Linked DNA regions of Homo sapiens: regions 2, 3, 4 and 5 are each linked to region 1. The links are contacts of gene promoters, found by promoter capture Hi-C in blood cells and fetal thymus (Javierre and others, 2016). All regions are on one chromosome and are shown on one strand. The core of a region is centred on a gene start or on the middle of the fragment in contact, and the rest is flanking DNA. Distances in the headings are between cores, read along the strand shown.

What was found. Contacts are between HindIII fragments. The CHiCAGO score rates a contact against its expected background, and 5 or more counts as called.
Region 2: a contact is called between a fragment that was not itself captured here and the fragment with the promoter of SLC35G1 in region 1, in 1 of 17 cell types (M1 macrophages). The highest score is 5.0, in M1 macrophages.
Region 3: a contact is called between a fragment that was not itself captured here and the fragment with the promoter of SLC35G1 in region 1, in 1 of 17 cell types (megakaryocytes). The highest score is 5.0, in megakaryocytes.
Region 4: a fragment that was not itself captured here is called in contact with the fragment with the promoter of SLC35G1 in region 1 in 1 of 17 cell types (megakaryocytes); the score reaches 5.4 in megakaryocytes.
Region 5: a fragment that was not itself captured here is called in contact with the fragment with the promoter of SLC35G1 in region 1 in 1 of 17 cell types (megakaryocytes); the score reaches 5.2 in megakaryocytes.

What each region holds. Positions count from the first base shown.
Region 1 is chr10:93,890,851-93,896,959 of GRCh38, forward strand. SLC35G1 (solute carrier family 35 member G1) reads left to right here and starts at 3,128. Exons shown (of 3, transcript NM_001134658.3): 1 at 3,128-3,361. The coding sequence starts at 3,184. RefSeq lists silencers at 3,102-3,531, 5,017-5,066. The HindIII fragment of the contact is 3,349 bases long and covers 1,516-4,864 here.
Region 2 is chr10:94,546,146-94,552,254 of GRCh38, forward strand. It overlaps HELLS (helicase, lymphoid specific), which reads left to right. Exons shown (of 22, transcript NM_018063.5): 2 at 232-353. Among named protein-coding and RNA genes, the nearest start is that of HELLS, 3.4 kb to the left of the region's middle. RefSeq lists an enhancer at 1-572. The HindIII fragment of the contact is 2,242 bases long and covers 214-2,455 here.
Region 3 is chr10:94,451,681-94,457,789 of GRCh38, forward strand. The region is part of intron 2 of TBC1D12 (TBC1 domain family member 12); the gene reads left to right. Among named protein-coding and RNA genes, the nearest start is that of TBC1D12, 52 kb to the left of the region's middle. The HindIII fragment of the contact is 4,672 bases long and covers 1-4,574 here.
Region 4 is chr10:94,435,004-94,441,112 of GRCh38, forward strand. All of the region lies in intron 1 of TBC1D12 (TBC1 domain family member 12), which reads left to right. Among named protein-coding and RNA genes, the nearest start is that of TBC1D12, 36 kb to the left of the region's middle. The HindIII fragment of the contact is 3,898 bases long and covers 792-4,689 here.
Region 5 is chr10:94,414,398-94,420,506 of GRCh38, forward strand. All of the region lies in intron 1 of TBC1D12 (TBC1 domain family member 12), which reads left to right. Among named protein-coding and RNA genes, the nearest start is that of TBC1D12, 15 kb to the left of the region's middle. The HindIII fragment of the contact is 577 bases long and covers 2,403-2,979 here.

The sequences.
Region 1 (6,109 bases), core at 1,878-4,377:
CAGTACTGATTTTTCCCAAAACAAAACATTAGGGCTGTTTGGAACAAACTGCCATTTCCCAAGTCATAAGTTGCATTAGTTTAAAAGGTAAGAATCCATGAATTTTTTGGAAAAAAAAAAGCAGTCCTTCAAATCAGTACCAAGGTACCAGTTTGTTATGAAAGACAGTTTCTGACATACAAACGTCTCACTTAGGAACATCCCTGACATGCAAAGACCAGTGGAAACCAGGAATCTGACTCCTCCTGGAAGTCTCCACCTGCTGCCACATGGATGGTGAGGATCTTGGACTTTCAGTGGTTAGCAGGGACAGGTTAAAACCCACCTCTTCTCCATTTTCATCTTCCTTCTTGACACCAGAACTATGGGAGTGCCATCCTTGCTGTGGCTACCTGGCATCACAGTGAGAGCTCCTGTTCTCACTGGAAGATTGAATCACTTCAGAAGCAGAAGAGTGTGTGCTGGAACACAGCACAATTTTGCATACAGAAACAATGCTCTTTCACATCTAGTCAACGAGTTCTGCACATTCCATCTCCTAGCCACCTCAAAATCCATCTTTCCTCCTTGCCTTCTCTACCTGGGGTCAGAATCTCATCTGGGTCACTTCAATAGGCTCTGAACTAGTCTCCTCTACAGTCGGGATTTCTGGCCCATCCTGCACATTATGGAGATCTATCTGTCACCAGCTCAATATCACTATCATCACCAAAGACCTGAAATAACAATGTTCAGGAGAGACCTTAACAGCCCCACACCTCTACTGGGTGGAGCTTCAGGACAGCCATGTCTTCTGACTTCTAGTCTGGTCCGCACTTTTTTTTTTTTTTTTTTTTTTTTTTTGAGACAGTCTCGCTCATGTTGCCCAGGATATAGTGCAGCAGCGTGATCTCGGCTCACCGCAACCTCCGCCTCCTGGGTTCAAGTGATTCTCCTGCCTCAGCCTCCTGAGCAGCTGGGATTATAGGCACCCGCCATTACACCTGGCTAATTTTTGTATTTTTAGTAGAGACGGGGTCTCACCATGTTGGCCAGGCTGGTCTCGAACTCCTGACCTCAAGTGATCTGCCCTCCTCGGCCTCCCAAAGTGCTGGGATTACAGGCCAGCTTGGTCCGCACTTTTCTCATTGGTTGCCTTTTATGTCAGCATGGCTGTCAGCTAAATGGGAGAATGAATATAACTGATACCATTTATATATGAAGGTCAGCAGTGGAGGGGAAGGAAGTTAAAGGGAATAAACAGCAGGTATGAAATCATCTCACCACCTTTAATAACTGGTGTAGTACCCATTTTCTTCTCTTCTTCTTCTCCCTTTTCGAGGATGGTGTTGAAAGTGTTGAAAGTGGAGCAGTCAGGGTACTTCCTTCTCAAATCATCACACTTCTTTCTTCTTTACCACACTTCCTAGCCATAATCTTCACCATTTAAGAGGAGGGGACTCTTCAAACCCTTTCCATATCGAAATCTTAGAATGCAATTGTGAAACTGCACTTGACTTCCCAGATATTTGAGGAAGCTTCCTGGTTCTTGCTTTATAATCATGATCTACCACCCTTACCATCCTTCCCTGAAATTTCCCTATCTAAAACAACGACAACAAAACCTGTTACAGATATTTTTGTAAGTAGCCTTAAATTCTTTTAAAAGTATTATTATTTTTTTTATAGAGACAAGGTCTATGTTGCCCAGGCTGGTCTCAAACTCCTAAGCTCAAGCAATCCTCCCACCTCAGCCTCCCGAAGTGCTAGGATGGTAGGCTGAGCCACCGTGCCCAGCCTTAAATTCTCTTTTAAGACAAGGCAAAAGTATGTGTTAATCAAGTTAGAATTCAGGTGACCATTTGTCTCAGTTTGCCTAGGACAGTCCCAGTTTATGCCTATTCCCTTGTGTAACTTTTAAAAGAGCTCCTCCTTTTACTCTTAAAAAAAAAAAGGTCCAGTTTGGAGGATAAATTATATGCTGACCCTAGTTTAAAACACACTTTGATTTTCTAACATAGTGTTTTCCAGGTGATATTATGCTTTTGCCCACATCATTGCATTTTATTTACATAACTACTCTGCGAAGCAGGAAGGGAAATACTTGATCGCTATTAAATAAAGGAGGTAATCAAGGCTTCGAGGGGTACAGTGGTGACTGAGGTCACACACTCAGGGCCAGAACCTAGGATTCCTGACTTCAAGTCTAAAACTGTTTCAGCTGTGGATCACTATGTGCAAATGTCTGAGTAAAGGCAAACTTCACTCTCCTTTGGTGATCTGCTTGGCACTGGACTTAGAAGTTTAGATACGTTCATCCTTGCACAGAGACTGTTCTTCCACATATAAAGCAAGCAAAGAGATGGAAGAAGAATTATTAGCTAAACAAAAAGAGGCTGTTAGTGAATCCTGGGCCAAAGAATATATTTTACCAGGTCTAATTACATCAGATTACTTGAATCTTACATCTGGCCAAATTAGGATATTTCCATTTAAGAAAAGAAAACCAAAGATCAATAATGCATGCCTACTCTTGCAAAGAATGCAAAGAACATATAAATGGGTTCTGGTCAGTCTTATAGATATATTTTCCTATAATTACACACTAATTCTTTCTTAAAAATATTTCCCAAAACAGCAAAATTCTACCCTCCTTGGTAAGCAGCAAAGGGACAACACGGGAAACAAAACAAAACAAAACAAAACAAAACAAAACATAAAAACCCTAGACCATTTAAAGACAAGCATGGTGCTTTGTAAAATCTTCGGGGTATCACAGAGGTGCTGAATGCGTGGTTACATCAATGAAAAAACGCCCACTCTTTGAGCCTCCTGAAAAGGAGGCCACAGGACCCCCGGGCGCCAGGGCTTGGGAACCCAGCGCCCCTCCTTGTCTGTGCCATGACAGACAGGTTCAGTGTGACTTGCCAAGGATGGCTCCAAGCAGCTGGGCCATGTAGCCTGAACGCAGCAGAGGGTTGGACGCCTTAGAGCCAGCTGTGGGCACCACAGCCCGACCAGGGAGGCAGCGGGTCTCCCCAGGTTAAGAGGCCAGCGGAGGACGCGCGCGGTCTCCTTGGGGGAGGGTGCGGGTGGGCCGGGCGCGCATGCGCATGGGCGCCATCGCCCGCCGGAAGAGCGGCAGCCCAGGCGCTGCTGCTGGCGCCAGACGGCACCGGCCGCTGGTAGAGCGCGTGCCGCGAGATGCGGCCTCAGGACAGCACCGGGGTCGCGGAGCTCCAGGAGCCCGGGCTGCCGCTAACGGACGATGCACCCCCGGGCGCCACTGAGGAGCCGGCGGCCGCCGAGGCAGCTGGGGCGCCAGACCGCGGTAGGTGCTGGCTCTGCCTTTCCTCGCCGTGTTGCTCCCGCACCGAGCCGGGTGAGTGCGCGGTGTGGATCGGGCTCTGGTCTCGCTCGGGGGTCCCGAGCGGGCGCCGGCGGGTTGGGGTCCCCGCAACCCGGGCACAGTGCCCGCCGCGCCTCCGTCCCCACCCTGCCCGGGGCTCGGGAAACCCCTCGAGCTGTCAGCTGGGGGGCTGCAAAGCGGAATTCCCGGCGCCCCAGCCGGCGCTAAGACGGAAGAAACTTTCCGATTGTTAGCAGTCCTTTTGGGATTCCGAGGCTGCTCCTGTAATTAGTGTCGGGGCAGGGCTGTGGAGTCAGACTGCAGTTTGGCGTACCCTCCCCTAGGTCGTAGGTGGGGGGTCAGCGAGAGAGGCCATCCTGCAGTGGGGCGACGTTGCGAGGAAGCTGACCCTGAAAAGTGATCCCGGTGGTTAAGGGTTCTCTCCGAAAAGGAAGCTGAAAAGCATCGAGTCTAGAAAAAATGTTCGTCCTAGAGTTTTAGAATCTTGGAAAGGCAGAGATAAGTGGGACCGCTAGTTTTTAACCTTTAGGGATACAAGGACTTTTTAGCAAACGATGCAGAACAAGGCATATCTTGTTAAGAAGCTCACAGCCCCGTCCCCAAAGTCAGGGACCCCTCGTGAAGAACACTTTATGTTCAGTCCCCCTCCTTCGACACATGAGCAAAGTGAGGCCCAGGAAGGTGAGGGCTTTTGGGTTTTCGTTTGCTTTGTCTCCTCCAAGATGTGGAACGTGGGGGTGAGATGGGGCGCATGTCCAGGGAGCACCAGGGTTAGGATCCCAGCTTGCCATATACCGGCCTAGGGCCCTTTCCACTGGCCACAAGTGCTGCTTCAAGCACATTCCTCTTAGAAGTCGACCATCTACCAGGAGCAGCTTCCTGCAAGAAGAAGGGAATAGGCAGATCTCTTTTTAGGACAGTTACACGGCCTGCACCACCTTGTCCTCTGGGTCACCTCCCCTAAGTGTGACCCTGGATTTCTGTTCCTCTCCTCTCACTGCGCTTTCCCCTCCTCCCTTTGTGCACTTTCCCCAAGTTAGAGAGACAGACTCTAGGAAGACTATTCTTGCTCCATTTCTGTCCTAAAGGCAAACCGAAATGATCAGACTTGTGATCATTTATAAATGGGCTGGTGCCTCTAGAACAGGGGTTATGCCAGGCTGAATTGAACAGATAAGCAGCCTTTGAAAAGGTCAGTTTCTCACCTATCACCCTCTGGGTGAATGTCCTTCTGGTGGCATGCCGAATCAGTCCATGCAAACTCTTAAAGTTTCCCCTTTTTGTGAATGGAAGAGGAATTCTCTACTCCCAGGCAGCTCATGGCAAGATGAGAAACTTACGTGAGTGTATCTAAGAATCTTGTGGGTGTTTAACTTCAAAGAAAGTTTCTACCAGTAAGACTTAGTTATTGTAAGGTGACAAGATAATATTTTGGAAAGAAAATTGACATAAAAACACTTTACTGTTGTCATTGAACTTTGTGACACCTCTTGTTCTAACTGCTTATCTCAACAAAGCTTTTTTCAAGTTCTGGTTGGAACTGTTACCCATATGTCTTACATTCTTGGATGACCTTAACAGACACATACAGCTGTCCCAAGACATCTCCTTACTTTCTTCAGGGACAGTGTGGGTCTTACACTGAAGCAAGGAGAAGTAGTTTCTTAGGCCTGTGCCTCACATCCTCTGGAGGGAGTTAGTGATCGAGTGTAGCAGTGGTTCTCAAACTAGTGGAGCCTTTTAGAGTTACAGAGATTCTATTTCGGTGGGTCTGAGATGGGGCTTGAGAATTAATTTTTTTTTTTTTTGGAGATAGGGTCTTACTCTGTCACCAAGGCTGTGGTGCATTGGCGTGATCACAGCTCACGGCGACCTCAACCTCCTGGGCTTACTCGATCCTTTCATCTAAGTCTCCTGAGTAGCTGGGACCACAGGCACACACCACCACACCCGACTAATTTAAAAATATTTTTTGCATTGATGAGGGGGTTTCCCCGTGTTGCCCAGGGTGGTCTCAAACTTTTGAGCTCAAGAGATCCTCCCACCTTGTCCTCCCAAGGTGCTGGGATTACAGGCATGAGCCACTGCACCCAGGAATTAAAGTTTTAAGTGTTACTCAGGTGATTCTAATTCCCAACCAGGATTGCGAATCACCAGCTGAAAGCAGAGGATAGAGAAGCTGAGTAATTTTTCAGTTTTCTTCTAAGTGAGGAAATTACACCATGGCCACTTACCTAATTTGAATAATTTGAGTTACCAAATTATTAGATATGCTTGCAGTGAGATATGAACATGGAACCTAAACAAATGCCTCTTTCAGTTATGCTAGTCATGCTCATCTCCATTGACAGGATTGAAATGATTTAGTAAGAAACTGAGGTTTGTCTGAGTGGAGCCAGTCCTCACCCTCGTTAACAAATCATCAAATGCAGCGAGGCCTTCTAATGTCTGTCCCTTCCCAGTTGGAAAGCATGAGCCTTAAGTGTTTATAGGCAAGAAAATACATGTGTATGTGTTTTAAGGGGAAAGGTCACTAGGGCCAAGGGGGTGCAATTACATTTTTAAAGAGTTAAAATATTTAATGTTAAGTTAAAATATTCCTGGGGAAAAATTAGCAAGTTTATGTTGGAGAAGATACTTGAAACAGAGCAGGGAGATGTTTTCTGTCCTTGATCTTCTCGGTCTGTTCTGTTTGAGGGTGGAGTTTCTATGTAGGGGTTGAGTTTCTTTTAAGAAAAACTGTTTTATTTGGAACTGAAT
Region 2 (6,109 bases), core at 85-2,584, 650 kb after region 1:
TCACATAGGCAACTGCATTTTCCCGAGCATCCCGAGTTGTAAACTGTGGTCCAGGCGACTTGTAGACATTGTGAAGACTTACGGTGTCTTCTGAGAGGTGATGCTGGCGTCCCCTCGGTCTTCAGCTTTTGCTCCAGTGCATCTCGGGTGGGAGAAAGGCTGTTTCTTGTTGGAGTTGAGTAGTTGGTAATTTTTTTAAAACTGCAATTTGAAAGCTTTCTCCCCCGTCAGGCTCGGAGGCTCCAGCAATGGTTGAACAACTGGACACTGCTGTGATTACCCCGGCCATGCTAGAAGAGGAAGAACAGCTTGAAGCTGCTGGACTAGAGAGAGAGCGGAAGATGCTGGAAAAGGTAATTTAGGCATCAGGTTCGTCGTCGTGAAAGCCTGTGGTAACCTCGGCTTTAACCCGGAGGTGTGGTTTGTGTTCTTTGCTTTCCTATTTAGTGGGCTTTTTAATAACTGAAAGAAAACAGCTTTATTACTTGTCTTTTTTGTATGTTTACAGATATTGCCTTTGAGAATCCTTTCGCAAGTGCTTTGAATGGTGTGTTTCTATGAGATGTAGTCTTGGTAGTCCCATCACTTTTAAATGAGCATTTCAGATTGCTTGTTTAGCCATGAAAAGTCTTTCAAAGTCCATAGTGAGTTTTTTCGTTTGTCATCCTTATTTCCTTTAAAAATTACCTTAAATGTATGTCTCATGGCAAACAGGAATCGCTAAAACCTGCAGAAGTAATGTACTAGACTGAGGGCAGGAGAAGTTAGCATCAATCAAAGGCTGGGCTGGAATCCAAGTCTAATGATTTCCTTATACTGTAGTGCTGTTTTCCACCTAAGTGATCAACTTGCTGTTTGTTTTTCTTTTGGTTTCATGGCCTGTGTATTGCTACATAAGATTCTTTAGCTAAAAATGTGCCGTACTTTTTCAATGACAAGTTGCTGTAGTTTTCTTGTAGAGAGCATTTTGTAAGTTACTAAAAACAGTTTTTAACCTGAAAAATTCTTGTTTATTCTAAAGCCCCACCCTGCTGCTTGATTCATATGCAAGAAAAAGAATGATCGTTGACTCTTAAGTACTGCCTAGTACGTGGTTTTCTTGTGCTTTATTAATTTATTAAACTCTACCGATATTATGATATAGGTTATTTTTTGTTATTTTCATTTACAAATGAAGAAACTGAGGGAGAAGGGCACATAGTAAGTGTTGAAGTCAAATTTCAACTCAGGCTGCCTGCAGAATTTCTGTCCTTAATAATAGTGAATTAACTCATGATTATAAAACTACTTAAGTTGGAAAATAATGCATTCCAAAAACGAGTAATGAGGCCGTTGGTTCCCTGTTATGTCAACAATAATTTTTTTGTCAGCATTGTTAATACTTCTTGAACATTTATTAGGAGTCATGCATTGTTTTGAATGCTTTATATGTATTTACTCATTGAATCCTCAACTATTCTGTAAAGTAGATGTTCATTATTACTATTACTGCTATTAAACTTACTAGTTTAATTACTAGTATAAACAATTGCTATTATTGAACTACACAACCAAATAGGTTTTATTAGTCATCTTATTTTACAGATGAGGAAACTGAGGCACATAGAGGTTGTTTGGGTGCCACAGTTGGTAAATGGCAGAGCTAACATTCCAGTGTAGGCCATGTGGTTCTAGAATGCACATTTTTTAACTACCATGCTATAGTTCCACTCCAGTAATACTCCTTCCGTTATTACTGATGATCTCTGGTTGACTATAACCAGTTAAGGTAATATATTAACAAATTTTCTTTAAGTAACATCAATACTTTTTGCTTCAGGGTAGATGTGAATTAACAGAATTGAGAGGTCTGACCTGAACCACCTTTTCTCATTCTTTGAATTTTCATAGTACTTTATTACACAGAATTTACCATGACCAAATAAGTAATGATAAATACTTCATACTACTTTTTGATTCTTTCTCACTTTGTTTCTTGAGGGTGCATCACTTGCTGTTTTGTTTTTGTAGGCTTTGCACCTGGCACATAGTAGGCAATCAGTAAGTGCTTATTGAATAGCTAACGATGATAAAATGGTATTTTATAATATACAAGATTATATACATATACTAAATATACTTATTAGCTATATAACCAGATGAATTATAAAGTATAAATTCTGGGGCAAGTGCCCAGAATGGAATCAACTGAAGAAGTCTAAGAGGGATGTGATAATTTTGTCTTGAGTAATGTATCTTCAGTTTTATCTTGTTTCTTCATATACCCATTATGAGTGTTGGGTAGGGAAATAGCATTTAAAGAAAGATATGCCTGAGATATGACAACAGTACATTTTCAGAAGGTATTATTCATTCAAGGAAGAAACACTTCACATTTAAAAAAGATAAGTCAAATATGTAGTATTTTATATATTTGCTGAGGTCAAATGACCTGCTACTTTTAATGACATTTTTAAGCTTATGAACAAACATTTTGCAGTTAGTCCTAAATTTAATAATTATGCATCATAGAACCTAAAGAGTAATTTTTAATCCTTCCATTAAAAAAGTATATGGCTGTTTTCATGGCCTGGCATGGTGGCTCACGCTTGTAATCCCAGCACTTTGGGAGGCCGAGGCGGGTGGATCACCTGAGGTCAGGAGTTCGAGACCAGTTTGGCCAACATGGTGAAACCCCGTCTCTACTAAAAATATAAAAATTAGCCAGATGTGGTGGCGCATACCTGCAGTCCCAACTACTCAGGAGGCTGAGGCAGGAGAATTGCTTGAACCCAGGAGGCAGAGGTTGCAGTGAGCCGAGATGGCATCACTGCACTCCAGCCTGGGTGACAGAGCAAGATTCCGTCTCAAAAAAAAAAGTATGTAGCCGTTTTCAATCTTAATATAAGTGTGTAATTTGCTAAAACATTAGTGTTGTGGTTTCGTATTACATTGTCTTGTTATGTACAGATAAGGAAAGTTTTTGATTATTTTTTGCACTGGACCCTCATAAAAAGTGATTGCCTAGATGACACTAGAAAATTCTAAGAAAAGTTTTCAGAGTCTCTACCTACTTGAGATTAATAAACATGTCTTTGGAGGCCAAACAATTAACTATGCACAGGTAGAGATTCCTTTTCTTTTGGGAGAATACAGTCTGTATGGGCATGTATTTAGAAGTACTTAACAGAGGAAGAGCTAGCTTAAGTTCCTTAATGAGAAGCATTTGGCTTTAGGAAATCCTAAGGTTTGTGAGGAACCTAGAAAATGACTTTGACATTCATTGGCTACAGTTATTTTCTTTGACTTTTCACATGTATTTCCCTTTAAAAGAAGTCATTGTTAGTCTAGGAGATTTGAGTACTGATAGTGCCTGTGAAGTGGAGGAGGGGGAATAGTTGGAGTCAGGAGATTTCTTGGAGAGGTAAAAGGATCATGATATGTGTAGGCTAAAATAGAACTCCTCCCACCCCCCAATAAAAAATCTGGGATTGGTGTTGGGAGAGATAATGGGGTAGATAATGAGGAATTTCTGCCCTCGGTGTCCATTGGCATACTCTGTACTGTAGTTACCCAGAGTTGTTTCCTGCCAGGCACTCAGTGCTTTTAATAGATGGAGTTGCAATTTACCGTAATATAATCATGAAATTGATAAATAAAGAAAAAACAGTGATAGGAAGATTTGAAATACAGAAGACCAGGTTTAAGGATTAACCACTTACATGGTATTATTTTAATATTAATTGTATATTATTTTTTTCCATGATGGCATCTTAAAGCTTTAGTGATTTTTATTTTTATTTTTATTTTTTTGAGACAGAGTTTCACTCTTGTTGCCCAGGCTAGAGTGCAATGGCGCAGTCTCGGCTCACTGCAACCTCTGCCTCCGGGGTTCAAGCAATTCTCCTGCCTCAGCCTCCTGAGTAGTTGGGATTACAGGCATGTGCCGCCAAGCCTGGCTAATTTTGTATTTTTAGTAGAGATGGGGTTTCTCCATGTTGGTCAGGCTGGTCTCGAACTCCCAACCTCAGGTGATCCGCCCGTCTTGACCTCCTAAAGTGCTGGGATTACAGGCATTAGCCACCATGCCCAGCTGATTTTTTTTTTTAGGAAAAATTTTTCCAGGAGCACCAGGCAAGTATTTAGGTTTTTTTTGCTTGTTTGTTTGTTTTGAGACGGAGTCTCCCTCTGTCACCCAGGCTGGAGTGCAGTGGCGTGATCTTGGCTCACTGCGACCTTCACCTGCCGGGTTTAAGCGATTCTTCTGCCTCAGCCTCCCAAGTAGCTAGGACTACAGGCGCGTGCCACCACGCCCAGCTAATTTTTTTTGTATTTTTAGTAAAGACGGGGTTTCAACATATTGGCCGGCCTGGTCTCAAACTCCTGACATCGTGATCTGCCTTCCTCGACCTCCCAAAGTGCCAGGATTACAGGCGTGAGCCACCATGCCTGGCTGTATTTAGTTGTTTTAAAAATATGTGCTGGCCAGGCGCGGTGGCTCATGCCTGTAATCCCAGCACTTTGGGAGGCTGAGGCGGGGCAGATCGCTTGAGCCCAGGGGTTAAGACCAGCCTGGGTAACAGGGTGAAACCCCATCTCTACAAAAAATTAAAAAACTAGCCGGCATGGTGGCACGCGCCTATAGTCCTAGCTACTCAAGAGGGTGAGGCAGGAGGATTATCGCTTGAGCCTGGGAGGCGCAGGTTGCATTGAGCCGAGATCTCACCACTGCACTCCAGCCTGGGTGATAGAGCGAGACCCTGTCTCAGAAAAAAGAAAAAGTGCTAATTCTGTACAGGATTTAAGGTATCAACTATATCTAAGTTAAACCCACGTTATTTTAACTGAACTTAAATTTTAAAAGTTAAAAATTTAAGAATCCATATATTGTGTAAGTAATTTTCATCTCCCTGTTTTCATATTCACCTCAGTAGTTGCGTATTGTAACCACAGTAGTATACTGGTAATAGTAAAAGAAATTCTGTCCTAAAAGAACTGAAAATTGAGTTCAAGATATTAAGAATTATCTGTGTAGGTGGGATTATGGGTGATTTATATATTTTTTGACATTTAGTTTTTCTGTAATGAGTATGCATTACTTTTGTTAGGTCCATTCTTAGAATCTTACTGTAGTCACTGATTTTATAATAGAAATATATTTTGATGCCGGGTACGGTGGCTCACACCTATAATCCCAGCACTTTGGGAGGCTGAGGCAGGTGGACCACGAGGTCAGTTCAAGAGCAGCCTGGCCAAGATGGTGAAAGCCCGTCTCTACTAAAAATACAAAAATTAGCGGGGTGTGGTGGCAGGTGCCTCTAGTCCCAGCTATACTGGGGAGGCTGAGGCAGGTAATTGCTTGAACCCGGGAGGCGGAGGCAGAGGTGAGCCAGGATTGTGCCACTGCACTCCAGCCTGGGCAACAGAGTGAGACTCCATCTCAAAAAAGAAAAAGAAATATATTTTGAAAGAAAGCTATAGTGATGATGTAATAGCTAGGAAAATGTAAGGCAATATAAAATGATATCTTAGAGATATTGATAAGCTGGAGCAGCAAAACTACCCAAGTGCTAGGGCATTATTTAGAGTATAAAAATGAATTCATACCCCCATTTCTTTTCTTTTTTTTTTTTGAGATGGAGTCTCGCTCTGTTGCCCAGGCTGAAGTGCAGTGGCGCGATCTCGGCTCACTGCAAGCTCTGCCTTCCGGGTTCACGCCATTCTCCTGCCTCAGCCTCCCAAGTAGCTGGGACTACAGGCGCCTGCAACCACACGCGGCTAATTTTTTGTATTTTTAGTAGAGACAGGGTTTCACCGTGTTAGCCAGGACAGTCTCAATCTCCTGACCTCGGGATCCGCCCGCCTCAGCCTCCCAAAGTGCTGGGATTACAGGCGTGAGCCACCGCGCCCAGCCTCATATCCCCCATTTCAAACACGCTGTAAACAATGCTCAATTACTTTCCTCTTAAGTTGAAACCACCAATTACTGGGGAAAGGGGCAGTTAGATTTTATTGGTTGACTTTGTGTTTTTACTAATCCTTGTTGAAAAGTAGAGGAATTGGTTTAGTTGAGAAAACAAAATACTAAAAAATCTGCCACTAGACTTTTTAAGTCAAGAGTTTGTATAAA
Region 3 (6,109 bases), core at 989-3,488, 560 kb after region 1:
ATTATTTCTGCTAGTTTTTGCTAACAGGTGATATCTTATCTCTTTGTGTGCCCAGTTACCTTTGCTTGAGTACTGGATGTGAAAACATATAATATTTGAGACATCATGTATGGAAGACAGTTTGAAGGCTAACATGATGTCATCCTTCAGAGATTTGATGAATGTTTCTTGGGCATTATATGTGTAGCTTTTGGTCCATTCATGTGAGGCAAAACTCAAGTGCCAACTCTTTTGATCATTTTTTTAAATTATTAAGTTGTATAAGTTAGTTTGTGGTTGTTAAACCAACTTTGCATTCCAGGAATAAACTATGATCAGTCACAGTTATTATTCACCTTGCATATTTCTGGATTAGATCTGCATATATATATTTAAATATATGTATTTAAATGCATATATATTTAAATATATGTATTTAAATTCATATATATTTAAATATATGTATTTAAATGTAAAAACTATGGCAGTTGTAGGTTCATAGCAGATTTGAGGAGAAAGTACAGAGAGTTCCATATAACTCCTGTCCCCACATACACACAACCTCCTTCACTGTCAGCATCCTGCACCACAGTGGATCATTTTTTACAACCAATGAACTTACATTGACACACAGTCACTCAAAGTCCATAGTTTACAGTATCATTCATTCCCAGTGTTGTACATTTTATGGCTTTGGACAAATGTATAATGACGTGTATCTACCATTGTAGTATTACACAGCATAGTTTCACTACACTAAAAATTGTGCTGTGTGTATTCATTCTTCCCTCCTCCAATCCCCTGGAAACCACAGATCTTTTTCTTGTCTCCATAGTTTTGCCTTTTCCAGACTATTATGTAATTGGAACCAGACAGTACTTAGCTGTTTCAGGTTGGTTTCTTTCACTTAGTAATATACATTTATATTTCTTCCATGCCTTTCCATGGCTTGATAGCTCATTTCTTTTTAGTGCTGAATAATATTCTATTGTCTGGGAACACCACAGTTTATTTACCCATTCACCTACTGAAGGACGTCTTAGTTGCTTCCAAGTTTTGGCTGTTGTTAATAAGGCTTCTCTAGACTTCTGCGTGCAATTTTTTGTGTGGTTTTATGTTTTCAGTTCATTTTGGTAAATACCAAAGGAAGTGATTACTGGATCATAAGAATATGTTTAGTTTTGCAGGAAGGTAGCAAGATATCTTCCAAAGTGGTTGTACCATTGTGCATTTCCAGCAGCATTGAATGAGAGTTCCTCTTGTGCCACATTTTCTCCAGTATTTGGTGCTGTCAGTGTTTTGAATTTTGGCCATTCTCATAGCTGTGTGGTGGTGTCTCATTGTCTTAATTTGCAGTTCCCTAATGACATATGATGTTGAACATCTCTTCACATGCTTACTTGCCATCTGTATATCTTCTCTGATGATATACAGGTCTTTTGCTCATGTTAAAATCAGATTGTTCAATTTCTTATTGTTGAGTTTTAAGACTTCTTTGTATATTTTGGATAACAGTCCTTTGTCAGGCATGCCTTTGGCAAATACCTTCTTTCTATGGCTTGTCTTTTCACAGAGCAGAAGTTTTAAATTTCAGTGAACTCCAGCTGATCAATTATAGTAGTCTCCCCTTATCACAGTTTCACTTTCCACAGTTTTGGTTATCCATGGTCAGCTGCAGTCTGAAAATATTAAAATAAAAATAAAAAATAAAAATATTTTGTGTGCATGTATGTCTGTGTGTGTGCATATGTGAGTGTGTGAGAGAACACATTCATATAACTTTTATTATAGAATTTTGTTATAATTGCTCTATTTTATTATTGTTAATGTCTTACTGTGTCTAATTTATAAATTTATAAAGTTTATAAAACATTATCATATGTGTAGGAAAAAAGCACATAGAGGGTTCAGTATCAGGCATCCACTGGGGATCTTAGAACATATTTCCCAAGGATAAGGGGGGACTACTGTATTTTACTTTTTATTTTTTTGTAGATCATGCCTTTAGTGTTGATCTAAAAAGTCATCACCATACTCAAGGCCATCTAAATTTTCTGTGTTATCTTCTAGGAGTTATATAGTTTTGTACTTTACATTTAGGTCTGTAAACCATTTTGAGTTAATTTTTGTGATGGATGTAAGGTCTGTATGTAGATTGATTTTTTTTTCATGTCGATGTCCAGTTGTTCCAGTACCATTTGTTGAAAAGCCTATCTTTGCTCCATTGTATTGCCTTTGCTCCTTTGTCAAAGATCAGTTGACTATATTTATGTGGGCTTATTTCTGGGATCTCTGTTCTGTTCCATTGATCTATTTGTCTGTTCTTTCACCAATGCCACACTGTCTTGATTATTGTAGCCTTCTGGTAAGTCTTGAATTCGAGTAGTGTCAACCCTCTGACTTTGTCTTTCTTCAATATTGAATTGGCTATTCTGGGTCTTTTGTCTCTCCATGTAACTTTAGACTCAGTTTATCATTCCCAAAATAATTTGCTGAGATTTTGATTGGGATTGTGTTGAATCTATAGATCAAGTTGAGAAAAGCTGACATCTAAATGACATTGAGTCTTCTTTTCTTTTGAGACAGAGTTTTGCTCTTGTTGCCCAGGCTGGAGTGCAGTGGCGCCACCACAACCTCCACCTCCCAGGTTCGAGCGATTCTCCTGCCTCAGCCTCCTGAGTAGCTGGGATTATAGGCATGTGCCACCATGCCGGGCTAATTTTCTATTTTTAGTAGAGACAGGGTTTCTCCATGTTTGTCAGGCTGGTCTTGAACTCCTGACCTCAGGTTATCCACCCGCCTCGGCCTCCCAAAGTGCTGAGATTACAGGCGTGAGCCACTGCGCCCGGCGAGTCTTCTTAATCATAAACATGGAATATCTCTTCATTTGTTTTGTTCTTCTTTGTTATCTTTCATTAGAGTTTTGTACTTTTCCTCATACGGATCTTGCATATGTTTTGTTACACTTATACCTAAGTATTTCATTTTTATGGTAATGTGTTTTACATTTTAAATTTTACTTGTTCATTGCTGTTATATTGTAAGAAAGTGATTGACTTTTGTACATTAGCCTTCTGTCTTGTAAACTTGCTGTTATTGCTTATTAGTTCCAGAAGTTTTTCTGTTGATTTTTTTGGACTTTCTCCATAGACAATCATGTCATCTGTAAACAAAGACAATTTTATTTCTTCTTTCCCAATTAGTGTAACTTTTATTTCCTTTTTCTATTGCATTAACTAGGACTTCCAGAACAATGTTGAGAAGCAGTGGTGAGCGGGGATATCCTCGCCTTGTTCCTGACCTTAGAGAGACAGCTTCTAGTTTCTCACCATTAAGTATGATGTTAGCTATGGGTTTTTTGTAGATGTTCTTTATCAAGTTGAGGAAGTTCCCCTCTATTCCTAGTTTACTGAGAGGTTTTCTCATGAATGGTGTTGGATGTTGTCAAATGCTTTTCCAACATCTATTGATGTTTTATCATATGATTTTTGTTCTTTAGCCTCTTGATGCAATTGATTAAATTAATTGATTTTTTTTTTTTAAACATTGAGCCAGTTGTGCATACCTAGGATAAATCCCACTTGGTCATGGTATAGAATTCTTTTTATACATTGTTGGATTAGATTTGCTAATATTTTCTTGAGGAATTTTTGCATTTATGTTTATAAGAGATATTGGTCTGTACGTTTCTTTTTTAGTAATGCCTTTGTCTAGTTTTGGTATTAGAGTAATGCTGGCTTCAGATAATGAGTGAGGAAGTATTTCCTCTCCATCTGTCTTGTGGAAGAGATTATAGATAATTGATACAATTTCTTCCTTAAATGTTTGGTAGAATTCATCAGTGAACCCATCTGGGTCTGTGCTTTCTGTTTTGGAAGATTATTAATTATTGATTCAGTTTCTTCTTATGTTAGTTTGGGTATATTTCAAGGAATTGGTTCATTTCATTCAGGTTATCAAAATTATGGGCATAGAATTGTTCGTAATAAGCCAGGTGTGGTGGCTCAGGCCTGTAATCCCAGCACTTTGGGAGGCCAAGGCAGGTGGATCACTTGAGGTTGGGAGTTCGAGACCAGCCTGGCCGACGTGGTGAAATCCTGTCTGCACTAAAAATATTAGCTGTACTAAAAATATTAATTTTCAAAAAAATTAGCTGGACATGGTGGCATGCGCCTGTAGTCCCAACTCCTTGGGAGACTGAGGCAGGAGACTCGCTTGAACTCGGGAAGCAGAGGTTCCAGTGAGCCAGGATGGCACCTGGACAACAGAGCTTAAGACTCCATCTCAAAAAAGAAAAAAAAAAAGAATTGTTCATAATACTTATTCATTATCCTTTTTAATGTCCTTGGGCTCTGTAGTGATGTCTCTACTTTCATTTCTGATATTAGTAATTTGTGTCTTTTTTGTTTTCTCTTAGTTATCATGGCAAGAGGATTATAAATTTTATTGATCTTTTTAAAGAACTGTTAGCTTTTGGTTTTGTTGATTTTTCTCTACTGACTTCCTGTTTTCAATTTTATTGATTCCTGCTCTTTATTTTTTTCTGCTTACTTTGTAATTAATTTGCTTGAATTTTTCTTGTTTCTTAAGGTGGAAGCTTAGATGATTGATTTTAGATCTTTCTTCTTTTCTCATGTATTCATTCAAAGCAATACTTTTGCCTCTAATACTGTATTTGCTGCATCTCACAAATTTTCATAAGTTGTATTTTCATTTTCATATAGTTAAAAATATTTTAAAATTACCCTTAAGATTTCTTCTTTGACACATGTGTTATTTAGAAGTGTGTTGTTTAATCTCCAAGTATTTGGGGATTTTTCAGCTATCTATCTCTGTCAATTTCTAGTTTAATTTAATTGAGATCTGAGAGCAGACATTTTATGATTTCTGTTATTTTAAACTTGTTAAGGTGTAGTTTATGACCTAGAATGTAGTCTGTATTGGTGAATGTTCCATGTTAGCTTGAGAAGAATGTTTCCTCTGCTGTTGTTGGATGCGGTAGTCTACAGATGTCAATTACATCCAGTTGACTGATGGTACTGTTGTTAAGCTATGTCCTTACTGATTTTCTGACTGCTGGATCTGTCCATTTCTGATAGAGGCATTAAAGTTTTCCAGTGTAATAGTAGATTCATCTATTACTCCTTGTAGTTCTATCCGTTTTTGCCTCATGTATCTTGACCACTCTGTTTTTAGTTGCATATATGATAAGGATTTTTGTGTCTTCTTGGATTACTAACCCCTTTATTATGTAATGCCCCTCTTTATTCCTGATAACTTTCCTTGCTCCGAAGTCTGCTCTGTCTGAGATTACTATAGCTACTCTTGTTATCTTTGATTAGCATTGGCATGGTATATCTTTCTCCATCCCTTTTTAAAAAATCTATATGTGCCTTTATACTTAAAGTGGGGTTTTTAAAATTTTAACCTAATTTAATTTAATTTTACTTTAAGTTCCAGGATACATGTGCTGACCTTGCAGGTTTGTTACGTAGGTATGCATGTGCCATGGTTGTTTGCTGCACCTATCAACCTGTCATTTATGTTTTAAGCCCCACATGCATTAGGTATTTGTCCTAATGCTCTCCCTCCCCTTGTCTCCCCACCCCCTGACAGGCCCCTGTGTGTGTTGTTCTTCTCCCTGTATCCATGTGTTCTCATTGTTCAACTTAAAGTGGGTTTTTTTGTAGGCAACACATGGCTGGGTCTTCTTTTGTAATACACTTTGGCAGTCTCTGTTTCTTCATTTGTTTGTTTGTTTTGTTTTATTTTTGAGACAGAATCTTGCTCTGTTGCCTAGGCTGGAATGCAGTGGTGTAATCATAGCTCACTGCATCCTCAAACTCTTGGCCTCAAATGGTCCTCCTGCTATGGCCTCCAAAAGTGCTGGGATTACAGGCATGAGCCACCATGCTTGGCCTCTCTGTGTTTTAATTGGTGCATTTAGACCATTGATATTTAAAGTGATTATTGATACAGTTGGATTATTATCTCTCATTTCTGTTACTGTTTGTTAGTTGTTGCCTTTATAATTTGTTTCCAGTTTTGTCTTCCACATCTTTTCAGTCTTTAGTTTTAATTGAACATCTTATATGATTCCATTTTCTCCCATTTCTTAGCATATCAGTTA
Region 4 (6,109 bases), core at 1,491-3,990, 540 kb after region 1:
TCAAGTTTCATTCATGGTGATGAATTAGCTTTTGTTGCTTTTCACGGAGGAATAATATTACATTTGCAAATATACCACAATTAGAATTTTCTATTCTTCTGTCAGTGGATTTTTGGATTTTGAGTAGGTTTTTGCTCTTTTGAACAGTGTTGTCCTGAATGTTGTTATATATGTATTCCAAATGTACATGTCCAGGACTTTGCTTAGGATTCGTGGCTAGAAGTCTAATTGCTAGATGGTAGGGTATGCAGCTGTTCAACTTTATGAGCTAGAAACAACTGTATTTATATCATGTAAATATCAAAACAAATTTATATCATGTAAATTTCTAACAGTGTTCTTCCCCTTCTAAACTTGGTATTATCAGGTTTCTTAGGTTTTGCTAAGATTTTATATACAGTGGTCAATACATTACAAATGTTACTCTGTTTTTAGTTTGTGAGCTCCCTTATTACTAATGAGGCTAAATATTGTGTGATAGATCTCATTTGCCATTTGTTTTCCCTCTTTCTGCAATACCTTTTATCTATTTTTTATTAGATTATCTTTTATGAAAGTGGTTAGTGGAGTTCTTTGTATTTTCTGTGTGCTAATTTTTTGTCATTTATGTGTGTTGGAATTTATCCTCTAAATTTATGTCTTTTTACTTTGTTTATAGTGCTCTTTGAACAGAACTCATTACTTTTTATGCTGGTGATTTTATCAAGTTTTAAAAATTAATGCTTTTGGGACTGATTTTTAGATTTTTCCCTGTGAGATTAGAAGAAAAATTCTCCTGTGTTTCTTTCTAAAGCTTTCAAAAGTTTGCCTTTCGTGTATAACTGTTTGATACATTGGGAACTGACTGTGGTATGTGGTAGGAATCCAATTTATTTTCTTTCACATTGCTAGCCGGAGGTCCCGATACTATTTATTACACAATCTTTCCTCGTTGATCTGCAGTGCCACCTGTGTTTCCATTTATGCTTGGGTATGTTTCTGAGTTGTTTATTCTTTCTCCATTGATTAATTTCTTTATCCCTGGGTCAATACCATATGTTGTTAAAAACTGTAATGTTATGGTAAATTTGGATATCTGTTAGGGCAACTCAGCCTTGCCTTTTTTCTTCTTGAAAATATCTTATTTTGGGTCCTTTATTCCTTTTTTTTTTTTGAGATGGAGTCTCACTTTTTTGCTAGCTGGAGTGCAGTGATGCAATCTCAGCTCACTGCACCTCCGCCTCCTGGGTTCAGTTGATTCTCCTGCCTCAGCCTCCCAAGTAGCTGTGACTACAGGCGCGCGCCACCACGCCCAGCTAATTTTTGTATTTTTAGTAGAGATGGGGTTTCACCATGTTGGCCATGATGGTCTCGATCTCTTGACCTCATGATCCACCTGCCTCAGCCTCCCAAAGTGCTGGGATTACAGGTGTGAACCACTGTGCCCGCCCAGGTCCTTTATTCTTTAACATAAATTTTTGAGTTTCCTTCAAGTTCCTAAAAAATCTTGTTGGGTTTCTGATGGGAATTGGATGAAATTGATAGATAAGTTTGGGGAGAATTGATATTTTTATGATAGTGTTTTCCTTTCTATAAATGTGAACTATCTTTCTATTTAATGAGGTTTTCTTTAATGTGGTTCAATAATGTATCATTTCATTCTCTCTATAAATTTTTATAAAACTTTGGCTAGATTTCTTCTCACATACCTTGTATTTTCTTGCTATTATATCTCTTTAGATTTTAAAAAATTTCCAGCTGTCATTGATGATACAAAGTCAAAATTGCTTTTTTTAAAAAAAGAAAAAAATCTTTTTTTTTTTTAATGCTTTAATGCTTTTTAGCCTCCCGAGTAGCTGGGACTACAGGCGCGCACCACCACGCACAGCTAATTTTTGTATTTTTAGTAGAGACGGGATTTCACCATGTTGGCCAGGATGGTCTCTATCTCTTGACCTCGTGATCTACCTGCCTTGGCCTCCCAAAGTGCTGGGATTACAGGCATGAGCCATCATGCCCGGCCTCTCCTTCATTCTTGAAGGATAGTTTTGTTGGATATGGAATTTTTGGTGGACAATTTTTTTTTTTCCTTTCTGACCTTTAAATATGTAATCTTACTTCTGGCCTCCATGGTTTCTGAAGAGAAATAAGCTGTTAATCTTATTGAGGATCTCTGGTTTTGATGGTACCTCTCACTTATTGTTTTCAAAATTGTCTTTGAGTTTCAGCAGTTTGACTATAATGTATCTCAGTGTGAACCTCCTTGAGTTTATTCTGCTTAAAGTTGTTGAGTTTCTTGGATGTGTAGATTATGTCTTTCCTCAGATTTGGGAAGTTTTTGGTTATTTTCTTTTTTTTTTTGAGACAGAGTCTCGCTGTGTCACCCAGGCTGGAGTGCAGTGGTACAATCTTGGCTCACTGCGAGCTCCGCCTCCTGGGTTCACACCATTCTTCTGCCTCAGCCCTCCGGAGTAGCTGAGACTACAGGCGCCCGCCACCATGCCTGGCTAATTTTTTGTATTTTTAGTAGAGATGGGGTTTCACCATGTTAGCCAGGAAGGTCTCGATTTCCTGACTTTGTGATCCACTTGCCTTGGCCTCCCAAAGTGAGTTATTTCTTCACGTATTTTTTCTGCCTCTTTGTCTTTCCCTTCTCCTTGGTCTTTTATGGTACGTAGTTGGTACACTTAGTAATGTCTCACAGGCCCCTCAGGCTCTGTTCCTTTTTCTTCATTCTTTTTTCTTTCTACTACTGAGAGTGGACAGTTTCAATTTTCTTATCATCATATTTGCCAGCTCTTTCTTCTGCCTGCTCAAATTTGCTGTTGAGTACATCTGGTGAATTTTTTATTTTAGTTGTTTTTCAGCTCCAGAATTTGTTGTGTTGCTTATTATAATTTCTGCCTTTACTGGTATTCTCATTTTGTTCATACATTTTCCCCCTTTATCCTCCTTTATTACCTTTCGTTCTTTGTCCATGGGTTTTTTTCTTTTTCAATCTCCTGGAGCTTTTTTTTTTTTTTTTTTTTTTTTTTTATGAAATTGACTTAATGTCTTTGACTAGTAATTACTTTGGGCTTCCTCAGGGAAGATTTTTGTCAAATTCCTTTTTCTAGGGAATGGGCCATACTTTCCCGTTTCTTGGTATGTTTTGTAATTTTTTGTTGTTGACAACTGGATACTCTGAGTATTATAGTATGGTAACTATAAATCTGTTTCTCCCACTCCTCAGTGATTGCTGTTTTTTGCTTGTTGAGGGCTGAAGCCACCTGTTTGTGACTTTACAAGCTATTTTCACAAAGTATGTATTCCATATTGTGTATGGTCACAAGTTTTTGTTCTGTTGTCTCTGTGGCTAGCTGGTGACCTGACAAAGATTTTCTTAGATATCTGGCTCCAAAAAAGGAGATCAAAAAGGTTTTACCTTTTTTATTGTTCTAATAATACTTACAGTGAAAGCCACTGCTGTGGAGAGTAGTGAAACTGATGCATGTGCCTGCATCACTCCCTTAGGGCCAGACCAACCAAAATGTACAACCCTAAATTTTGAAGGACATGATCCCTACTGTCCCTCCTGGCACCGGTTAGCAACTCCAGGAACATGGGCTGCTATCCCCACTGCCACAAGAGGTGGTGGGTGTGGTGGTGGTGGTTGTGAGGAATAGGGGAAGGTAATTGGTTTATGCATGCTGCTTATTCATACTTATGAAAGATCGGTAGCCTCTTCCTTCATCAAGCACTCCCCTGGTTGTTAAAAGGGTTTGGTCAGTTCCTAGAGTTCTACTAAAGTACTTGATTCCAGTTACTCTTAGTTTTTTTTTTTAACTCTTACTTTTTTTGAGACAGAGTCTTGCTCTGTCTCCCAGGCTGGAGTACAGTGGTGCGATCTCAGCTCACTGCAACCTCCGCCTCCTGGGTTCAAGCAATTCACCTGTCTCAGCCTCCTGAGTAGCTGGGATTACAGGTTTGCGCCACCATGCCTGGCTAATTTTTGTATTTTTAGTGGAGACAGGGTTTCGCCATGTTGCCCAGGCTGGTCTCGAACTCCTGACCTCAGGTGATCCACCCGCCTCAGCCTCCCAAAGTGCTAGGATTACAGATGTGAGCCACCATGCCCCGCTCCAGTTACTCTTTCTAGCTCAACTTTTACTTTGGTGGGGAGACTGACCCCTAGATCTTTCTATTCTGTCATTTTGCATCCATGATGTCTTTTGAAGTTCAAATGTTTTAAATTTAGTTAAGCCCAGTTCATCAACTTTTTCTTTTGTAGATCATGTTTTTGTGTCATATCCAATAATTATTTTCTTAAACCATGGTGACAAAGATTTTTTCTTGTGTTTATTTGTGTGGGTAGATAGGAAACCTTTAGGGTGCAGGCAGGTCACGTAGGAATTGTAGAGGGAATATGACTTGATGAGAACTGTCTGGCCTGTGTGGGGCTTGCAGAGGAAATTGGCACACTGTTGCTGGCAGGAAGCCTTTGGTGGAGTCAATTTTTTTGTTGAGCAGGCTGCAGGAACGCCATCTCCAGGTTGAGGCTGCAGGTTCAGCAAGGCTGCAGGTTTGCTGAGGGGCTGCAGTCTGGGCATCGAGCTAAGCAGAATTTTACTGGATGTCCTCACACTTCTACCCGATCCACTCTGCAGCAGCTGGAAACCACAGGAGAGCCCCTTTCTCCTTCAGTGTCCCTTTGGTGCCCTCTACCCAGAAAGCTTAATAATTTCATGTTTGTTTTAAAGGAGAAATGATTAAAGGAATTTTTTCTGTTATCTTAGAGCATAAAGGTGAATTTGGAGTTAAGAGGTATTAGAAGAATCATCAACAGAAATAATAAAAAGATAAACAAATTGGAAGGAAAATGATAGCCATAAATAAGATGTAGACATTTGTTTAAATCAGCTACAAAGTGTTTTCTTGATAAGTGGTACACAACGTATCAAACATTGTTTAAATTAATAGACCATCCTTTGAGGCTTCAAATTTTTTTCTTAGAAGTATTCCTAGTCCTCAGCATATTCATTATTGAAAACGTTCACCTATTTAGTGATCTTATGAAGTAGAGAATTAAGTCACTGTACATGGTCTCTGAGGTGAAACCTCCAGAGTATCTTAAAGTAGAAATTACTCTAGTGTCATATGTTTATTTCTGTTATACACCTGAGGAAATAAGAGTGTTTATTTCCTTTTCCTTTCTTTTTTTTTTTGGAGGCAGGGTCTTGCTCTGTTGCCCAGGCTGCAGTATAGTGGCAGTATCATAGCTCACTGCATCCTTAACTCCTGGGCCCAAGTGATTGTCCCACCCTAGCCTCCCAAGTAGCAGGGACTACAAGGTGTGCACCACCATGCCTGGCTATTTTTTTTAATTTTTATTTTTTGTAGAAACAGGGTCTCACTACATTGCCCAGGCTGTTCTCAAACTCCTGGGCTCAAGTGATCCTTTTGCTTTGGCCTCCCAGTGTTGGGATTACAGGCATGAGCCACTATGCCTGGCCATTTCTTTTCTTTATTATTGATTAGCCTGCATTCTTTTGTAGGAGTCCCTTAACATTTTTCATTAAAAACTTATTTTCTATTATCACTAATCTGCACTTTTAAGATATATTGATACGGCATTTTGAGTATAGATAAATCTAATTATTTGGGACTTCAATTTGGAACTGTTTGTAATTAATCATATGTGTGAATTAAGAATTTTCTTACTGTTCACTTATAGCTTATGCAAAGGGTTTATATTGAGTTGAATTCATCAGTACCTTCCTAATTGGTTCATTGGGCCCTGGTCATGTTGTTTTGATGGGTACATATGTTGAGTATCATCCCTGCTTACATAAAAAAATAGGTACTTAATTTGGTTGGTTAGGGCATGGAGATAATAGGTAAAATCCTTAATACTTGTGCAGGGTGCACAATGACGCGGAGTGCAATGAGGCGGTCTCGGCTCACTGCAACCTCCGCCTCTAGGGTTCAAGCGATTCTCCTGCCTCAGCTTCCCGAGTAGCTGGAATTACAGGTGCCCACCACCACGCTTGGCTAATTTTTGTATTTTTAGTAGAGACAGGGTTTCACCATGTTGGTCGGGCTAGTCTTGAGCTGCTGACCTCGTGATCCGCCCGCCTCAACCTCCCAAAGT
Region 5 (6,109 bases), core at 1,441-3,940, 520 kb after region 1:
TGTAGTTAGTTCTTAGGCCTGTTGGTTTCAGAGTATTACCACAGATTATTTCCATATTTTTCTAATTTTTCTACTTGGCATACCTCAGTGCCTTTGTGGATGTTTCTAGCCACTTGTGTCTTTAAAGTATCTTGTATATCTCTCCTTAACTTCCCTAACGTCCCTGTCTCCCAGTGGCTTCTCAATAGGCCATACTGTGAAACTTTTTTTTTTTTTTTTTGAGACGGAGTCTCGCTCTGTCTCTCGGTCTGGAGTACAGTGGTGCGATCTCGGCTCTCTGCCACCTCCGCTTCCCAGGTTCCAGCGATTCTCCCATCTCAGCCTCTGGAGTAGCTGGGATTACAGGCGTGCACCTCACGCCCAGCTAATTTTTTGTATTTTTAGTAGAGATGGGGCTTCACCATGTTGGCCAGGGCGGTCTCGAACTCCTGACCTGAAGTGATCCGCCCACTGCGGCCTCCCAAAGTGCTGGGATTACAGGCAAACTGAACTATTTTTTAATAACAGGTTGTACATATAAAGTTTAATTTAGGCTCTAAAAGTTTAGGTTGTTAGTATGATAGTTTCAGGTACTAAAATGTACATTTATCAAAAGGTAAAATAAATGCAATATACAGTTGTACACACTGTATTCTTATTTGAGTTCCAGTGCTAAAAGGAAAGGAAAATTTTTCCTACAAGTACCAGGGTAAATCTAGCAAATGGAATTAAAGTCCCTCTTACCCACATGGAAAAAATTCATGGTTCATTACCAGGAAGATATAGTACATAGAAATTTAAGTTCTAAAGTAAGTTATTGAAGTTTTAAATAAGGAAAACATCCCAACTGAATAAGTAGTTTCTGTATTTTTGAAGAGTGATAACATTTAAGTTGCTTTTTTGTACTTACATAAGCCTTAACTCCCCCAACCCCTCATTGACTTTTTAACGTTATTGGTACTACCCAGAGTTATAGAGATTGGTAATCCTTGAATGTTATTTAGAAAACAAAGGACTTGTGGTTCAGAATTCTGTTTTGGTCACCAAAATTTTTGAGTTAAAGACTAATAAAACTAGCCAGGCCCGGTGGCTCATGCCTGCAATCCCAGCACTTTGGGAGGCCGAGGCAGGCGGATCACGAGGTCAGGAGATCGAGACCATCCTGGCTAACACGGTGAAACCCCGTCTCTAGTAAAAATACAAAAAAACTAGCTGGGCATGGTGGCGGGTGCCTGTAGTCCCAGCTACTCGGGAGGCTGAGGCAGGAGAATGGTGTGAACCCAGGAGGTGGAGCTTGCAGTGAGCTGAGATGGCACCACTGCACTCCAGCCTGGGCACTCCAGCCTGGGCGACAGAGCGAGACTGTCTCAAAAAAAAGACTAATAAAACTTTTGATAGGTAATTATCATATAAGGTAACTAGCACACTAATTGAACAAATAACTGGAGGATAATGCCCATCTTTGTAATATACTCCCAGAAGCACAGTAATACTGTCAAAAATACTAGAATAAGGATTTACTTTCAAAACTGGGTGTACAAATAACACAGCTGAGAACTATACTGCATGAAGGGAAAATTTTAGGAGATAACCACTATAAAATTTTCTTGAGTAAAATAATAACTAGCCACTTATTTTAATGAGTAGATAAGATTGTATTGCTCTTCCACAACACCACTGGAACATAAACTTTTGATTTAGTTGTCCATTTAATAGAAACATAACACTATGTAGGGAAAAAAAATACAATTACCTTGGTCAGGATCTGGGTTTCACCTGTGCTACTGGAAGAAAGGTTCTATCATGCATATCATCAGTTCAGGATGTACTTCTACGTCAGACATGAGCAAAATGTCAACAAAGCAAAGCACCAGCAACTACCATACAGCTAAGTGTGTGCTTTTTATTCTCAGAAGGTTTAGACATCTGATAGATGTTATTTAGTCTTGCTTGAATTCTTTTACTAATTTGGAGCTTGGTTTTCTCAACAGAGCCTATTGAGGGTATTAGTTGTTAGAAGGTTCTATGTTGAAGTACAGTGTAGTTCATTGTAATGTTCATAGTCCCAATTTCCCCCCTAGAGCCACAAAATACAATTCAATTCATTTACATGATTACCCTTCAGACATTTAAGATTGCTACAGAACCCTTTTTAGTTCTTATTAATTAGTTTGGAATTTTCTTACTATTTATTCATTCAGCAAATTATTGTGAGTCCTCTATGTATACTAGGCACATAGGATATTAGGTAAACAGAACATTTTATTTAAAAAGTTTCAGATAAGGGAGTCCTATAATATCAATGTTTACAATATTACCTGATAAGTGTTATAAAAGAGGATATGAGGATGCATCAGTACTGAGGAAGGGGTGATTAACTTTGAGACAGGAAGTTAGGAACTTTACAGTAGATGAAACATGAAAGCTTAGTATTTTACTAAAGAAGAGGGTTTGGGTTAGAATGAGTGTGATGACAGGACAAGTAAAAATAACATATATATAGAATTATATATAAAATAGCTCAGCACTTTTTGGGACTGCAGATTCTCATCTGGATGATTGCCTCTAGGGTGCATGAGGTATGTGTCAAAAACTGAGGCAAAAAGGTTGGGTCTAAATTATGGGGGAGCTAAATTTGTCTGACAGAACTAAGTAATTTGAACTGATTCAGTGAGAGGTGGCAGTACAGGGAACATTTGTGGGTTTTTTAAACAATGGAGACATACTTAGAACTACATTTCGGAACGGTGACTTGCATAGCGGTGTGGCAGATGATTTGCAACTTGAGAAACTGGAGCATGGAGATAGTTATGGTAGTTTATGGGTGTTTGTCAGTCTCCTTTTCACAATGTGATATACAGATAGTTGATGTAAATAACATTTTTTAAACCAGTAATATTGGATTAGAGAAAAAAAGTAAATAACTAGATAAATCTTTCAATCTCTGCAAGAAGGGGTGGTTAATAAGTTGAGTGAGACATACCAGTAGCCTTTTTGTGAAGCTTTAAGGAAAATAAACTTTGAACTGGATTTTTGTTTTTGAAGGAATTGAGATGATATGAAAATAGAGTCATGTGAAAAATTATGCTTACCATATTTTGTAAGGAATTTAATGAGGATGGGAAAAGAGCCAGAATAGCTATTTGGCTACATGTTTTGATGTTGCGGATCAGAAAGGAAACAACCTCAGGAAAAACCCTGGAGGTGTAAAATTGTTGCAAAATCAAGGTTTCACATCTAGTGTAAAAGTTCTGTACATTGCTTTATAAAAGTGGACTGGGACAGTATACTTATCAGCCATTTTTGAGGATTGAAAGAGATTAAAAAAAATTGAGACTTCCATAATTACCTCTATGTATATGTGTCTCTTCTTCTTTTTTTTTTTTTTTTGCTACGGAGTCTCGCTCTGTCGCCCAGGCTGGAGTGCAGTGGCGCAGTCTTGGCTCACTGCAAGCTCCACCTCCCGGGTTCACGCCATTCTCCTGCCTCACGCCTCCCGAGTAGCTGGACTACAGGCGCCCGCCACCACGGCTGCCTAATTATTTTTTTTTGAGTTTTTAGTAGAGGTGGGGTTTCACCGTGTTAGCCAGGATGGTCTTGATCTCCTGACCTCGTGATCCGCCCACCTCGGTCTCCCAAAGTGCGGAGATTACAGACGTGAGCCACCGCGCCCGGCCCATGTATGTCTCTTCTACTAAATGGCAAAGCCTCCAGAGACAGAGACCATGTTCTTGTTCATTTTTTTACCTCTGTGTAGAGATATAGATTAAATTGAAGGATAATAAAACCAGAAACTTGGGCCCTGCCACGCTTGAATTTGGTTATCTCCAAGTAAATCTAGCTCTATTAATTCTCACAAAGCCCAACAATCTTTAGTTACCCATGTGCTGGCAAAACAGTCCATGTTTAAAGGAGTAACTACCTAAACATATAGATTTTGGTAAAATACTTGTGGCAGCTGCGCAGCTTTTAAGAAAATCCAGATTACAGCATCTGTAACTGAAATGTTGTAATATAAAGAAAGTGCTGAATTTTGTTTTATAACTATTGCCTTAATGCTATTGCTAGTTTTGAAGAAAATACCTTCTTTAGGTTTTCTTATCAGCCTAACAGATTATTCTCAATTTCTGTAGAACTAGATATGTCTGTTTTTCGCCTTCAATCTTTTATACTTTGGTCTATTATTATTATTATTATTATTATTATATTATTTTTGAGACAGTCTCACTCTGTCACCCAGACTGGAATGCACTGGTGCAGTCTCGGCTCACTGCAACCTCTGCCTCCCGGGTTCAAGTGATTCTCCTGCCTCAGCCTCCCGAGTAGCTGGGATTACAGTCACATGCCACTGTGCCAGGCTAACTTTTGGTATTTCTAGTAGAGGTGAGGTTTCGCCATGTTGGTCAGGCTGGTCTTGAACGCCTGACCTCAAGTGATCCACCCGCATCAGCCTCCCAAAGTGCTGGGATTAGAGGCTGAGCCACTGTGCCCAGCCTTTTTTTTTTCTTTTTTTTTCGAGGCAGAGTCTCGCTCTGTTGCCCAGACTGGAGTGCAGTGGCGCGATCTCGGCTCACTGCAACATCCACCTCCTTGGTTCAAGTGATTCTCCTGCCTCAGCCTCCCGAGTAGCTGGGACTACAGGTGCACGCCACCACGCCCAGCTATTTTTTGTATTTTTAGTAGAGATGGGGTTTCACCATGTTGGCGAGAATAGTCTTGATCTCCTGACCTCGTGATCCACCGGCCTCGGCCTCCCGAAGTGCTGGGATTACAGGCGTGAGTCACCGCGCCTGGCCTCCCAGCCATTTTTTTGATAGCAAACACATACATCTTTTATTTATTCTTAAGGATTTGTACATTTACTATTAAATGTGTTACATATACGGGTTATTTAATGTATATTAAAGTATATTAAGTATATAGGTTATTTAGTATGATTCCATACTAAATAACATTTGTTTATCATCGTGAAGTTTTTAACATTAACCTGCATTTTAGATTCAATAAAACTTAAAAGGCCGGGTGCGGTGGCTTACGCCTGTAATCTTACCACTTTGGGAAGCCCAGGTGGGTGGATCATGAGGTCAGGAGTTCCAGACCAGCCTGGCCAACATGGTGAAACCCCGTCTCTACTAAAAATAGAAAAATTAGCTGGACGTGGTGGCGCCTGTAATCCCAGCTTCTCGGGAGACTGAGGCAGGAGAATTCCATGAATCCGGGAGGCAGAAGTTGCAGTGAGCCGAGATTGCGCCACTGCACTCTAGCCTGGGCGACAGAGCAAGACTCTGTCTCAGGGAAAAAAAAGACAAACTTAGAAGCAGCTCATATAGAATAAACAGCTTTTGATAGGAACAGTCATTTTTGTATTTTGTTTAAAAAGCCTTAACCAGTGTAATTTAGTTTTCTATTTAATACATTTAATACCAAACAGAGCCACAAAGAAAAAAGTGAATCTCCTCTAAGTAGTTTTTATTTTACCAAAATGTGTGGTTTAGATATGGCTTTTGGTTTGGGATACTTACTCCTACTGAAAGAAGCAAGCAGTTAATCTGTTGATGAATGCTGGCAACCATATTTTAAGAACTGATAACTAGAAGTTCAGTTTTATAAATCTGTTAAATTTTTTTATCGCAGTGGAATATATTGCTGTGGACCGAATGTTTGTGTCCCTCCAAAATTCATGTGCTGAAGGCCTAATCCCCAGTAATGATATTTGGAGGTGGTATCTTTGAGGTAATTAGGTTTAAATGAGTTCATCAGGGTGGGACTCTAATGATGGGATTAACACCCTTATAAGAAGAGGCCCTGGAGAGCTTGCTTCCCTTTTTCTGCCCTGCTGCTATATGAGCACACAGCAGAAAGGTAGCTGTCTGAAAACAGAAGAGACTCCTCACCAGACACCAAATTTGCTGGGACCTTGATCTTAGACTTCTCCATCTCCAGAACGTTGAGATACAAATGTCTGTTGTTCAAGCTACCAAGTCGATGATATTTTGTTATAGCAACGTGAGCTAAGACATGCATATGACATAAAATTTACCATTAGTGACATTCAGTACATTCACCATGTTGTACAGCTAGCACCACTATCTAATTCTAGAACATTTCATTACCCCAAAAAGAAGCTCTG